Linked DNA regions of Homo sapiens: region 1 is linked to region 2. The links are contacts of gene promoters, found by promoter capture Hi-C in blood cells and fetal thymus (Javierre and others, 2016). All regions are on one chromosome and are shown on one strand. The core of a region is centred on a gene start or on the middle of the fragment in contact, and the rest is flanking DNA. Distances in the headings are between cores, read along the strand shown. Region 1 holds the start of JAZF1-AS1 (JAZF1 antisense RNA 1). Region 2 holds the start of CYCS (cytochrome c, somatic).

Region 1 (5,522 bases), core at 1,263-3,762, 3.1 Mb before region 2:
AAAAGTAGTATGAGCAGAACATCACATAAACAAAGCTTCAGTCACATATGAAGAAGTAGTAGGGTGGATTATTTTCAGGCAAAATGAACTGATTCCTTACAAAACAGTAATAATTATCCAAGGTAGAGAAAATAATTTTGTCTTAAAAACCAATATCTTGATTTACTTTGGAAGTTATTTTAGCTCACTTCATTTTTTAAAAAATCTATTTTTTTCAATTTGGTCTAGCAAGGTTTTATTTTAGGAATAGTGAAACTGACAGGAGGTAGTAGAAAGCCATGCATTAGTGAAACCCAGGCCCCTTACTTCCTTCATCTTTCACCTGCACATTTCTGGCACTTCCCATCTCGGAACTCTCTTGCCTGAACCACCTCTCCACACTCTTGGGAGTTAATAACTCCACGTAGACAATTTTTCCTCTGGAGGACAGAACTGCTACTTCTTCAAAGCTTTTGGGGCTCCCAGATGCTGCATAGTGGGGGTGCCTAACATTCATCTCTAAGGGTGGCTGTTTTGGCATCATTTTTGGCTGAAGTTTTGTATTGCATTTCCATGTCATTTGGTGTGGTGTGTGCCTGCCAGATATTCTGCCTGCTCTCAGCTGAAGGCCTTCCCAGATTGGGCAGCTGAATGTACTGCACAGCTGCCAAAATTCTAATTCAAGATCTAGAATTCTAACTCCTGCTCTTTAGACCCTTGTCTGGCCTTGGCCTCAGTCCCCTGCCAACTCGGTCCCTGGCTCATTATCAGGCCCACCAGGGCCCTGCCCCCACCCTCATTGGGCCCATGAAACCATTCTTGGCACCAAACTGAACTTCAAGACACAGCTGCCCCAGCCCCACCCAAGCCGAATCTCATCTCAGCAAGTTTGTCACCTTGTGAGCTGCAAGACAGAAGAGATGAGAAGAGAAAATGCCACCGGTGATGGTCAGATCATAAAACTTCCTGTAGCAACAGACATATTACATGTGCCTTTACTCTAAGCACTTACATGAAAAGCAAACAATCCCATTATTAGAAATAACACTAGACAGAGATGCATAGAGTTTATGGAGGGAGGAATACTATTTCTCCATGCATCTGCACCAGAGGGTAAGTGAAATTTGCCCTAAGGAAAAATGCTAAATTCAGTATGCATATATTAATATTAATAAAAAAAATGTACTGTTGGGTCATAAACTGCTGATAATGTGTAATATTTCTTAGACACCTGGAAAAGTGCTACTGGAAAATACACACTTTACAGAAGAAATATGACTGCAACTGGAGGAGGGGGTGGGGACAAGAAAGTAATTGATTCTCAGCAAAATGCTGGTTTTCAGGGAAGCTACTAAATTCACCTTAAGTGGTTACCTGGTCAACATTATGCTTTAAATGCTCACAGGATGAAATCGCTTCCTTTTTAAATGAAGAGTCACTATGTCCCTTGCCGTTGTTTCCGCTCCTTCTAGCCTTAACCAATGCACTGTCCTTTCTGCAGTGGCTGAAACGAGGATGGGTTAATTACCAGACCTGAGATGGTGGAGTGGGTGCAGTAGGGTGCTGTAATTTCGGGTGATGAAATTATTTTAGTTTTTGTTTTCCTAGAAGGAGCAGGGAGTATAAAAAACGTGGCACATATGTAAAACACAGGCAAATGCACTTGACAACCAAGCACTCTATTTTGAAATTTAAATAAAGCTAAGATTTTTTTCTGGCCTAGAGGGAAAGCTTCATTAAAATCAATTAGTTAGTACAAACCTCCGGAGAATGTGTACTTTTTCTAAAGAAGGTTTAAAGAAGAAGGTGCACACAATTACCTTTCCTGGGTCCCCTGTGAATGTGTCACACCTAGACAGGTGGCTGAGTACAAAAAAATGTCCCTGAGAGGGACCAGGGTAACTCCCTGAGTTCTCCTCGCAGGGAGGTAGGTGTAATTAATCGATGTGGGTGTATTAAGAACGTCATATACATAACCAAGGAGGCTCCAAACAGATGGCACGGATGGCAAGCCGTAAAGGGCAGGCCTAGCGAGATAAAGTTGGTGGCAGGGCTCGCAGGTGAGGCCTGGGTCCGCGCGCTGAGGTTGGGGCCGCACAGCTGTAGCCGCGCGCCCTGGTCCCTCCTCCCAGCTGCGGCGGCCTTCCCCCCCCGCCCCCGCCCCCGCCCTCCCCCCGCCGCTCCCGACGCCGCCGCCGCAGCCGCCGCCTCCCCTCTGCCTCCCGGTGGCTCCTCGCTCTCCTTCCATCTCTCTCGCCCCCTCTCCCTCCGTCCCGTCCTCGCCGCTCCCCTCACCCCGCCTCTCTCCCCCTCCCCCAGCCCCTCCTCTCCTCACCCCACCCGGCCTCCCTCCCTCCCTCGCCCGCCCGGCGCTCGCAGAGCCGACACCAGGGGGGCTCTCGATGTAGCACCATGACAGGCATCGCCGCCGCCTCCTTCTTCTCCAATACCTGCCGATTCGGGGGCTGCGGACTCCACTTCCCCACCCTGGCCGACCTCATCGAGCACATCGAGGACAACCACATCGGTAAATGGCCCGGGGGTGGGCGGGGGTGCCAGGCGCGCGGAAACTCCTGCCCGGGCGGGGAGCCCCGGAATGGCCAGGGGTGGCCGGCGGGGAGGGAGGCGGCAGGGCGGGGAGGGCGCGTGCGAGCCCCGAGGTGGGGGTGGCGGGATGCGGGGGCGCGAGGTGCCGGGGGGCGGGGAGCGGGCTCGGGTGGGGGAGGGGGCGGGCGCCCCGAGGTGCCGCGGGCGGGCGGGCGGGCGGCTGGGGGACTCAGGGGCGTGCACGCGGGCTGCGAAGTGGTGGGAGCGGGGAGCGCCGCGGCGGGGCGGCGGGGTTGCGGCGGCGGGGCCGAGTGCCGGCGCGCGGGGCGCGGGGCGGAGGGCGCGGCGGGCGGCGGGAGCTGGGCGCTGGGCAGGGTCGCGGAGTTAGTTGGCCCGGGTGGTCGGAGTAGCCCGAGGCGCTGAGGGCAGCGGGGGGCGGGCGCTGCACGCCGCCGGGCGCTTCCGCCCCGGCTCGAGCTGTCAGGGCTCGGCGGCGGCTGCAGCCGCGGGGAGGTGGAGCGGGGGGGCGGGGGTGGCTCCACCGCGGCAGCCATTCCGCTTCCTCCTCCCGCCGCCGCCGCCGCCACTGCGTCCTGTCAGCGCCGGTTGCTAGGTGTGGTGCGTCGGGAGGGGGCCGGGGCCGGCGGCCGCGGGCGGGGGCCGGGGAGCTTGCCCTCTCCCTGGGAGGCGGCCGAGGGGCCCGGGCGGGGCCGGGGACGCGGGCCCGGGGGCTCTGGGTGCCCTCCCCTGCCCCGGCCTGGCGCGGACGCCCGGGCGCTGCGGGCTGAGGTCTTGGGTGCGCCCGCGGGCCGCGCCCAGCGCCCCGGGGTCGACGCGCCCTGGAGGCCCCTGCGGCGGCGCCCGCTGGAGAGACACCCCCAGGGCCCATGGCCGGGCATTTAAATGCACCCCGGCTCTGCGATTTGCCTTTCTAATGGTGCTAGGCCCGAGGTGCGCTGGCTGCGCCCTGGGATCGGCGGCGGCCTGCGCAGCGCCCCGGGCCCGGGAGACGCCGGGGAGGGGGCGCCCCGCAGGGTGGCTGCTTTCCCTTCACGCCTGGACCCCTGGACCTTTCAACAAGTCCTCTGATTTGCAGAAGTCATTGCACACATTTTCACACTTCTATTCGGAACCCCTGCTAAGGGAGGTGGGCCGGGTGCATCTGGCTTAGGCGGTCCAACCACCTGCGGAAGGTGTGACCGACGCCAGCGAGTTGTCCTGCGTGGGCTAGAAGGTGAAGGGTCCGAGCGATGTCCCAATGGGGCTGTCTAATCCAGAGAACCTGTAAATTGCCCCCAGGAAGTCCAAATGAATGCCATGGATTCAGCCATGTGGATGCAGCTCACGTTTCTACAAAGTTGAGAGAATAAATCACGACTGCTGTGTATTTATGCAGGAATAAAATGAGGCAGAACCCTATGCTCCTTTGCTTAGTATAGTGCTGTCTCTGCACACAGTGGCTGCTTAATAAGTGTTGAATGCCTGTTTAGAATGTGATTTGATGGGCCATCCGGAATAGGAGATAATCATGGGAAACGTCTACAAAATGTCTTTCAGAGGAAAATGCTGTTGAGTAATTGTCCAGGTTTTGAAACTTTTCAAGTTTTCAGGCGTCCTTGTAATAGCTTCTTCCATTTCCTCTGCTAAAGGTATGACAGAAGAGCTGGGCAAGTTTTGGTAGTCTTAAAAGCAGTTTAATGGAGCAACCAATTTGCTGATTCATATCATGATTGAATAGTCATAACTGAAAGTGCTTGAAAGTATTAAATCAGATTTTTCATGATGGCTAGTTTAAAATAAAGCGAAAACACCGGTACTGTGAAGTTCTGGTAGAAATGTTACTAGTTCAAGTTCTTCCCCTTACTCCCAATAATAAGTAAAAAATAAATATAGATAATGCTATACATTAATATGTATGATATAAGTAATATAAATAAATAATTTCTCTTGACTTACAGAAGGCTGTCATTGCATATCCCATCCATTCTCGCTAACAGTTATTTCAGAATAAACTATAATTTATATAAGCTGAGTAATAATTTTACCCCATTGCCTACCTACTTAGACAAGCTGGTTAAAAGACAGTATAAATTATATTTATTAAAATGTGTTAAAGACAGTTATCCTTCTTGAGGATTTAGTTTGAGATGGTTTAAAACTTGGTGAATCATGAGGTTTTTTTTTTAAGTGTAGAAATTGTCTTAATATTTTGCACACATTTTTAAAGAAGGTTAAGAGTTTGATACGTTTTCTAAAACTCAGCTTTGAAGTAATGCTACCTCATTCCCAGAAGGCTAGTGTTGTCCTTTTAATAGTGAAAATGTGGAAAAATTAAGTTTACAGCAATAGCAGTGACCTAGGTGAACTGTGTTGCAGGGCTAACACAGTTGAAAACAGTTTGAACCAGCAAACTTTATGAAAAGCAAATGTTAAAATGAACAAACACTTGCAATTCCCAGGATGAAGAGGCTCAAACTATTATACACTTCTGCTGGGGAGAGGCCCTTTACTATCAAAGGCAGCCCTATATGCAGAAAGAAGAACTGATCTTAAGAAGAATAAAAATATCCCAATTAGTAGATAGTGTCATATAAATACACTTCTGATGAAAAGACATGGGTGAAAATATAAAGCATTTAGTCAAAGTTCTAGACAGGTATTGTTATGTGGTATTTATCGTTTTTGATTCAATCTATAAGTATTTGGAGACCGTTAATGATTGACTTACTGATTTCATGTCTGTTGGTGAGTGGTTACATTAAAAAGATTCATGAAAAGAATAAGAGGTGTGTTATTTTGCTTTTAATTTGTTCAACAGTCTTGTTATTTAGCAACCGTGAGTATTAGAGATATGCTTAGGTGAGCATTCCATTTTGGGGGCCTATCTGGGTTATTACCTTTAGCCACTAGTAAAAACCCTTAAACAGCGATAAAATGAATATTTATGGGAATATGGTGTGTTTCTTGCTTGGCAGATTTTTCAAGGCCTGTGTTTT
Region 2 (5,677 bases), core at 3,178-5,677:
AGGAATTGCCCCCGACATAGGAACAACAAATTGAACAACTATCCACCCAAAAAAGAACCTTCATAAGAACCAAAAATCATGTGAGCAATCACAGTACCTGGTTTTAACATCATATTAAGGAAAGAGGCACTGAAGAGGGTAAAAAAGGCAGTCTTGGATTGCCTACACCACCCCTTCCACATCCCCCAGCAGTGGCCACATGGCATAGAGAATCAGTGTGCTTGCGGAAGGGACAGGGCAGTGATTGCAGGGCCTTGCATTGGAACTCAGTGCTGCCCTGTCACAGTGAAAAACAACACTGGGCAGAAATCAGCCAGTGCCCAGAGGGAGCATGTAGATGAGCCCTAGCTAGAGAGGAGTCATTCATCCAAGCAGCCAGAACCTGAGTTCTAGCAGGCCCAGCTACCGTGGGCTAAAGTGCTCTGGGGGGGTCCCAAATAAACTTGAAAGGCAGAATAGGCCAAAAGAACTACAATTCTTGGGCAAGTTCTGTTGCTGGGCTTGGAGCCATTGGGCTTAGAATGTACATGACCTAGTGAGATGCTAGCCAGGGAGGCCAAGGGAATGCTTGCATCACCCTTCTCCAAGCCACAGGCACTGCTGCTGACAGTACTGGGAGAGACTCCTTCCCACCACTTGAGGAGAAGAGAGGGGAGAGTAAAGAAGACATTGTCTTACAACTTGAATACCAGCTCAGCCACGGTAGAACTGTGCACTAGGGGGAGGCCCCCATTTCATGCCCTAGCCCCCACATGAAATTTCTAGAGACACCCTGGGCCAGAACGGAACCTGTTGCCTTAAAGGGAAGAGCCCAGGCCTGGCAAGATTCATCACTTGCTGACTAAAGAGACTTTGGGCTTGAATAATCAGTAGTAGTAGCCAGCCATGCTGGCTTCAGGTGTGGTGGCTTCAGGGGAGAGACTCCTATTTGAGGAAAGGAGAGGGAAAAGTAAGGAGACTTTGTCTTGCGACTTGGATACCAGCTCAGCTACTGGGGAGTAGGGCACCAAGCAGGCTCCTGGAGTCCCTGATTCCATGCCTTGGCTCCTAGACAGCATTTCTGGACATGCCCTGGGCCAAAGAGGACCCCACTGCCCTGAAAGGAGAAACTCGGGACTAATAGCATTTATCACAAGCTGACTGAAGAGCCCCTGTGCCTTGAGTGAATGTTGGCATAGCCAGGAAGTACTAGCCATGGGCTAGTGCAATGGTGGTCATGGGGAAGGACTTTGATGCTTGAGGAAAGAGGAGGGAAGAGTGAGAATAACTTTATCTTGTGGTTTGGGTGCCAGGTCAGCCACAGTGGAATAGAGTACCAGGTAGATTCCTAAGGTTCCCGACCCCAAGCCCTGGCTTCCAGACAGCATCTCTGGACCTACTTGAAGATGGAGAGAACTTGTTGCCCTGATAGGAAGGACACAAGGCTGGCTGAATTCACCAGCTTCTGAATGCAGGCCTTGAGGAAACATAAGCTACTGTAGCTAGACAGTGGTCACTGCAAGCCTTGGACCAGACCCAGTGCTATGTTGGCATCAGGTCTCTCCTAGCACAGTCACAGTGGAGGCAGCCACAAGGGTGCTTGTGTCACCTCTCCCCTAGCTCCAGACAGCTCAGTGCAGAGACTCCATTTGTTTGGGTGAAAGTAAGATAAGAGAACAGAGTCTCTGCCTGGTAATCCAGGTAATTCTCCTGGATCTTACCCAAGACCACAAATGTCATACCCCTACAAGTCTGCAAAAGCTATAGTTTTACTGAGCTTCGGATGGCCCCTAATGCAGATATAGCTGCAGTGACCAAAGACTTAGATCACAACACCCAAGTCCCTTCAAATACTTGGAAAGCCATCCCAAGAAGGGTGGATACAAAAAAATAAAAAGCCCAGACTGTGAAGACAATAATAAATACCTAACTCTTCAGTGCCCAGACACCAACAAAAATCCACAAGCATCAAGACCACCCTGGTAAACACGACCTCACCAAACAAACTAATGAAGGCACAAGTGACCAATTCCAGAGAGAAAGAGATATGTGACTTTTCAAACAGAGAATTCAAAATAGCTGTGTTGAGGAAGCTCAACAAAATTCAAGATAACACAGAGAAGAAATTCAGAATTCTACAAGATAAATTTAACAGAGATTAAAACAATTAAAAAGAATCTAGCAGAAATTCTGAAGCTGAAAAATCCAATTAACGTACTAAAAAATGCAGTCCCTTACAGGCAGAATTGATCAAACAGAAGGAAGAATTAGTGAGCTTGAAGATGGGCTATTTGAAAATACACACTCAGAAGAGACAAAAGAAAAAAGAATAAAAATGAATGAGGTACACCTATAAGATCTAGAAACTGGCTTCAAAGGGCAAATCTAAGAGTTACTGGCCATAAAGAGGAGCTAGAGAGAGAGATCAGGGTAGAAAGTTTATTCAGCGAGATAATGACAGAGAACTTCCCAAACCTAGAGAAAGATATCAATATTCAAGTACAAGAAGGTTATAAAACACCAAGCAGATTTAACCCAACGAAGACACCCCAAAACATTTAATAATCAAACTCCCAAAGATCCAGGATAAAGAAAGAATCCTAAAAGCAAGCAAGAGAAAAGAAACAAATAACATAAAAAGGAGTTCTAATAAGTCTGGCAGCAAACTTATCAGTGGAACTTTACAGGCCGGGAGGGAGTGGCATTACATATTTAAAGTGCTGAGGGAAAAAACTTTTATCCTAGAATAGTACATCCAGTGAAAATATCCTTCAGATGTGAGGGAGAAATAAAGACTTTCCCAGGCAAACAGAAGCTGAGGGATTTCATCAACACCAGACCTGTCCTACAAGAAATGCTAAAGGGAGTTCCTCAGTCTGAAAGAAAAGGACATTCGTAAGCAATAAGAAACCACCTGAAGGTACAAAACTCACTACTAATAGTAAGTACACAGAAAAACACACAATATTATAATACTGTAATTGTGTGTAAACTGTTCATATCTTGAGTAGAAAGACTTAGAGATTAACCTAACTTATCAAAAATAATAGCTATAACAACTTTTCAAGACATAGTATAATAATATATAAATAGAAACAAGAAAAAGTTTTAAAAGTGGGGAGAGTGAAGTTAAAGTGCAGAGTTTTTCTTAGTTTTCTCTTTGATTTTTGTTTATGCAATCAATGTTATGTTGTCATCAGTTTAAAACAATGGGTTATAAAATATTATTTGCCCTGGGCGTGGTGGCTCACACCTGTAATCCCAGCACTTTGGGAGGCCGATGCGGGTGAATCACCTGAGGTCAGGAGTTCGAGACCAGCCTGACCAAATAGTGAAACCCCATCTCTACTAAAAATACAAAAATTAGCTGGGCGTGGTGGTTTGCTCCCGTAGTCCCAGCTACTTGGGGGGCTGAGACATTAAATGGCGCCACTGAAGAAGAATGAATAAGGTCTAGTAATACAACAGGGTGACTACACTCAACAATAATTTATTGTACATTAAACAAACTAAAAGTATAATTGGATTGCTTGTAACAGAAAAAAAGGATAAATGCTTGAGGTGATGGATAGACCGTTTACCCTGATGTGATTATTATACATTGTATGCCTGTATCAAAATATCTCATGTACCTCTTAAGTATATATATATATTTACCTACTTCGTACTCATAAAAATTTTAAAAGGTACATAAATGTTATCATTGCATCCTCTTAATTTTATTTTTCAGTTCCAGAGGGATAATCCTGTCTCTGCCGCAAATGCAGCACCTTCCTCAGTCTTGGGGCGTCCATCAAGCGGAGAGCTGGAATGTGACTGAAAGTAACAGAGTATAGGTGGAACTAGAACAAGGTCACGAGCTGGTGCCCAACTCGTGTAACTCCTGGTTCCAGGCTGTCCCTCTAGGATGCTGTTGGCGCCAGCCGTGGTAGTAGGACAGAGTCTGGGTAAAGGTCGCCTGCTGACAAGATGGTAGCTAGGAGACCTCTAGGTGCGCCAAAATTAGGGCGTCTTTTCCTGGACCGGCAAAACGCCCTGCTCAAAGCTCATTACATCACCACGCCCAAGAACTGATACTTTAGCAGGGCAACGCACCAACCAAGCGACTCCGCCCCACCCTCCCCGCTCCTCCAGCACACGCAAGCGCACAGAGGCCCGCGAGTGACGTCACCTCTCCCGACACCACCTCGTTGTCGTACGACCAAAGGCCTGTCGTAACGGCCGGGAAAAGCCTCGAGAAGAAGGGCACGCACGCCGTACACCCTAACATGCTCGCCAGCATGCGCGCGCAGGTCCTTGGCGCAGGCATTGGGACTGGAGCCAATGAGGTGCGGCGACGTTACTGCGTAGCCGCCAGCTCGGCCGCACGTCAGGGCGCGGGAGCGCGGAGCGAGTTTGGTTGCACTTACACCGGTACTTAAGCGCGGACCGGCGTGTCCTTGGACTTAGAGAGTGGGGACGTCCGGCTTCGGAGCGGGAGTGTTCGTTGTGCCAGCGACTAAAAAGAGGTGAGAGCGGGTCGCGGAGGCCGCACCTGGTTAGAGGCAGAGCTGTGGGAGGCGCGCACTTGCGAGCGACCGAAACCCAAGCGGGGAGCATTCGAGTGGAGCCCGCGCTGGGTGGGAGGGCGGGGAGTGAAGACCCTGGACTGTGGTCAGACCGAGCTGGGCGAGTAACGGCTTGAGGTGCGGCGGAGCCCTAACTAGGGACAGGTATGGTCTCGGTCAGGGACTGGAGGCGGCTTGGATACAGATCCGAGGAGGAGGCGGCCTCTTCCGTAGTGGTTGCTGAAGGGCTATGGAAATGATAGGCAAGACTTCCCTCCTGGAAAGCCGAAGCTTAGAGCTTCACGTTCTTCTTCAGAGGGCAAAAGCTGTTGCTCTTCTAATAAGGGGCCAGTTCTTTTCGTGGGCACATGTTTCTTCCGTCAGTCGTTCTGACATCCTAGAAGGAGTTTCATCAATCACCTTGAAACCGACCTGGACGGGTGACCTCGTGGTCGCCCCAGGAGATCACAGGTAGGGGAGTTGGGATGTCCCCGGGGGACCGTGCAGCCTGCCCCTGAGCTCCCATTCACAAGTTCGAGTGTCAAGCTACTCCTGTGACCTGGGCAGATAGAAACAGCCAGGACCGCTTTTTAAACATTTGTGTGCTTTGCGTTATCCTCAGGGAGAGGTGGCTTTACATTGTAGTAAGATTAAATGGTTAGGTCTTTTTAAAAGTTGCGGTTGTGGTGATTTTGGCTTAATGTGTTCGCCCTTGAGCTTCAGATCTGTGACTTCGTGACCATGATTGTCTCTTCTGAAACTGGAGTTTGAATTAGGTTCCCTCTTTGCTTGGGCTTTAACGTTCCTTCACGTATACACACAAAAATACGTTTTTGAGGAGGTACTCCTAAAAATGTTTTTGGTATTAAAGAATATTTGGTATAAAGAGTATTAAAGCAAAACAAGATTCATTCTGGTATTTAATGACATAAATTAGCAATGGATTGGTAATTAAGTGGCTAGAGTGGTCATTCATTTACACTGTATTTGTTACCTGAGGAAAAATTTACTAAGTTGAAGCTTTCGTTTTTAGAATTAAATATGGGTGATGTTGAGAAAGGCAAGAAGATTTTTATTATGAAGTGTTCCCAGTGCCACACCGTTGAAAAGGGAGGCAAGCACAAGACTGGGCCAAATCTCCATGGTCTCTT

What was found. Contacts are between HindIII fragments. The CHiCAGO score rates a contact against its expected background, and 5 or more counts as called.
Region 1: a contact is called between the fragment with the promoter of JAZF1-AS1 here and the fragment with the promoter of CYCS in region 2, in 3 of 17 cell types (naive CD8 T cells, non-activated CD4 T cells and total CD4 T cells). The highest score is 7.1, in naive CD8 T cells.

Annotation. Positions count from the first base shown.
Region 1 is chr7:28,177,447-28,182,968 of GRCh38, reverse strand. JAZF1-AS1 (JAZF1 antisense RNA 1) reads right to left here and starts at 2,512. Exons shown (of 4, transcript NR_034097.1): 1 at 2,430-2,512. JAZF1 (JAZF zinc finger 1) reads left to right here and starts at 2,174. Exons shown (of 5, transcript NM_175061.4): 1 at 2,174-2,506. The coding sequence starts at 2,392. RefSeq lists a silencer at 2,980-3,099 and enhancers at 2,954-3,453, 3,454-3,955. The HindIII fragment of the contact is 6,606 bases long and covers 1,713-5,522 here.
Region 2 is chr7:25,124,010-25,129,686 of GRCh38, reverse strand. It overlaps CYCS (cytochrome c, somatic), which reads left to right and starts at 4,427. Exons shown (of 3, transcript NM_018947.6): 1 at 4,427-4,487; 2 at 5,560-5,677. The coding sequence starts at 5,568. It also overlaps a transcript of SPMIP4 not described here. RefSeq lists enhancers at 4,017-4,266, 4,414-4,957, 4,958-5,502. The HindIII fragment of the contact is 6,168 bases long and covers 1-4,819 here.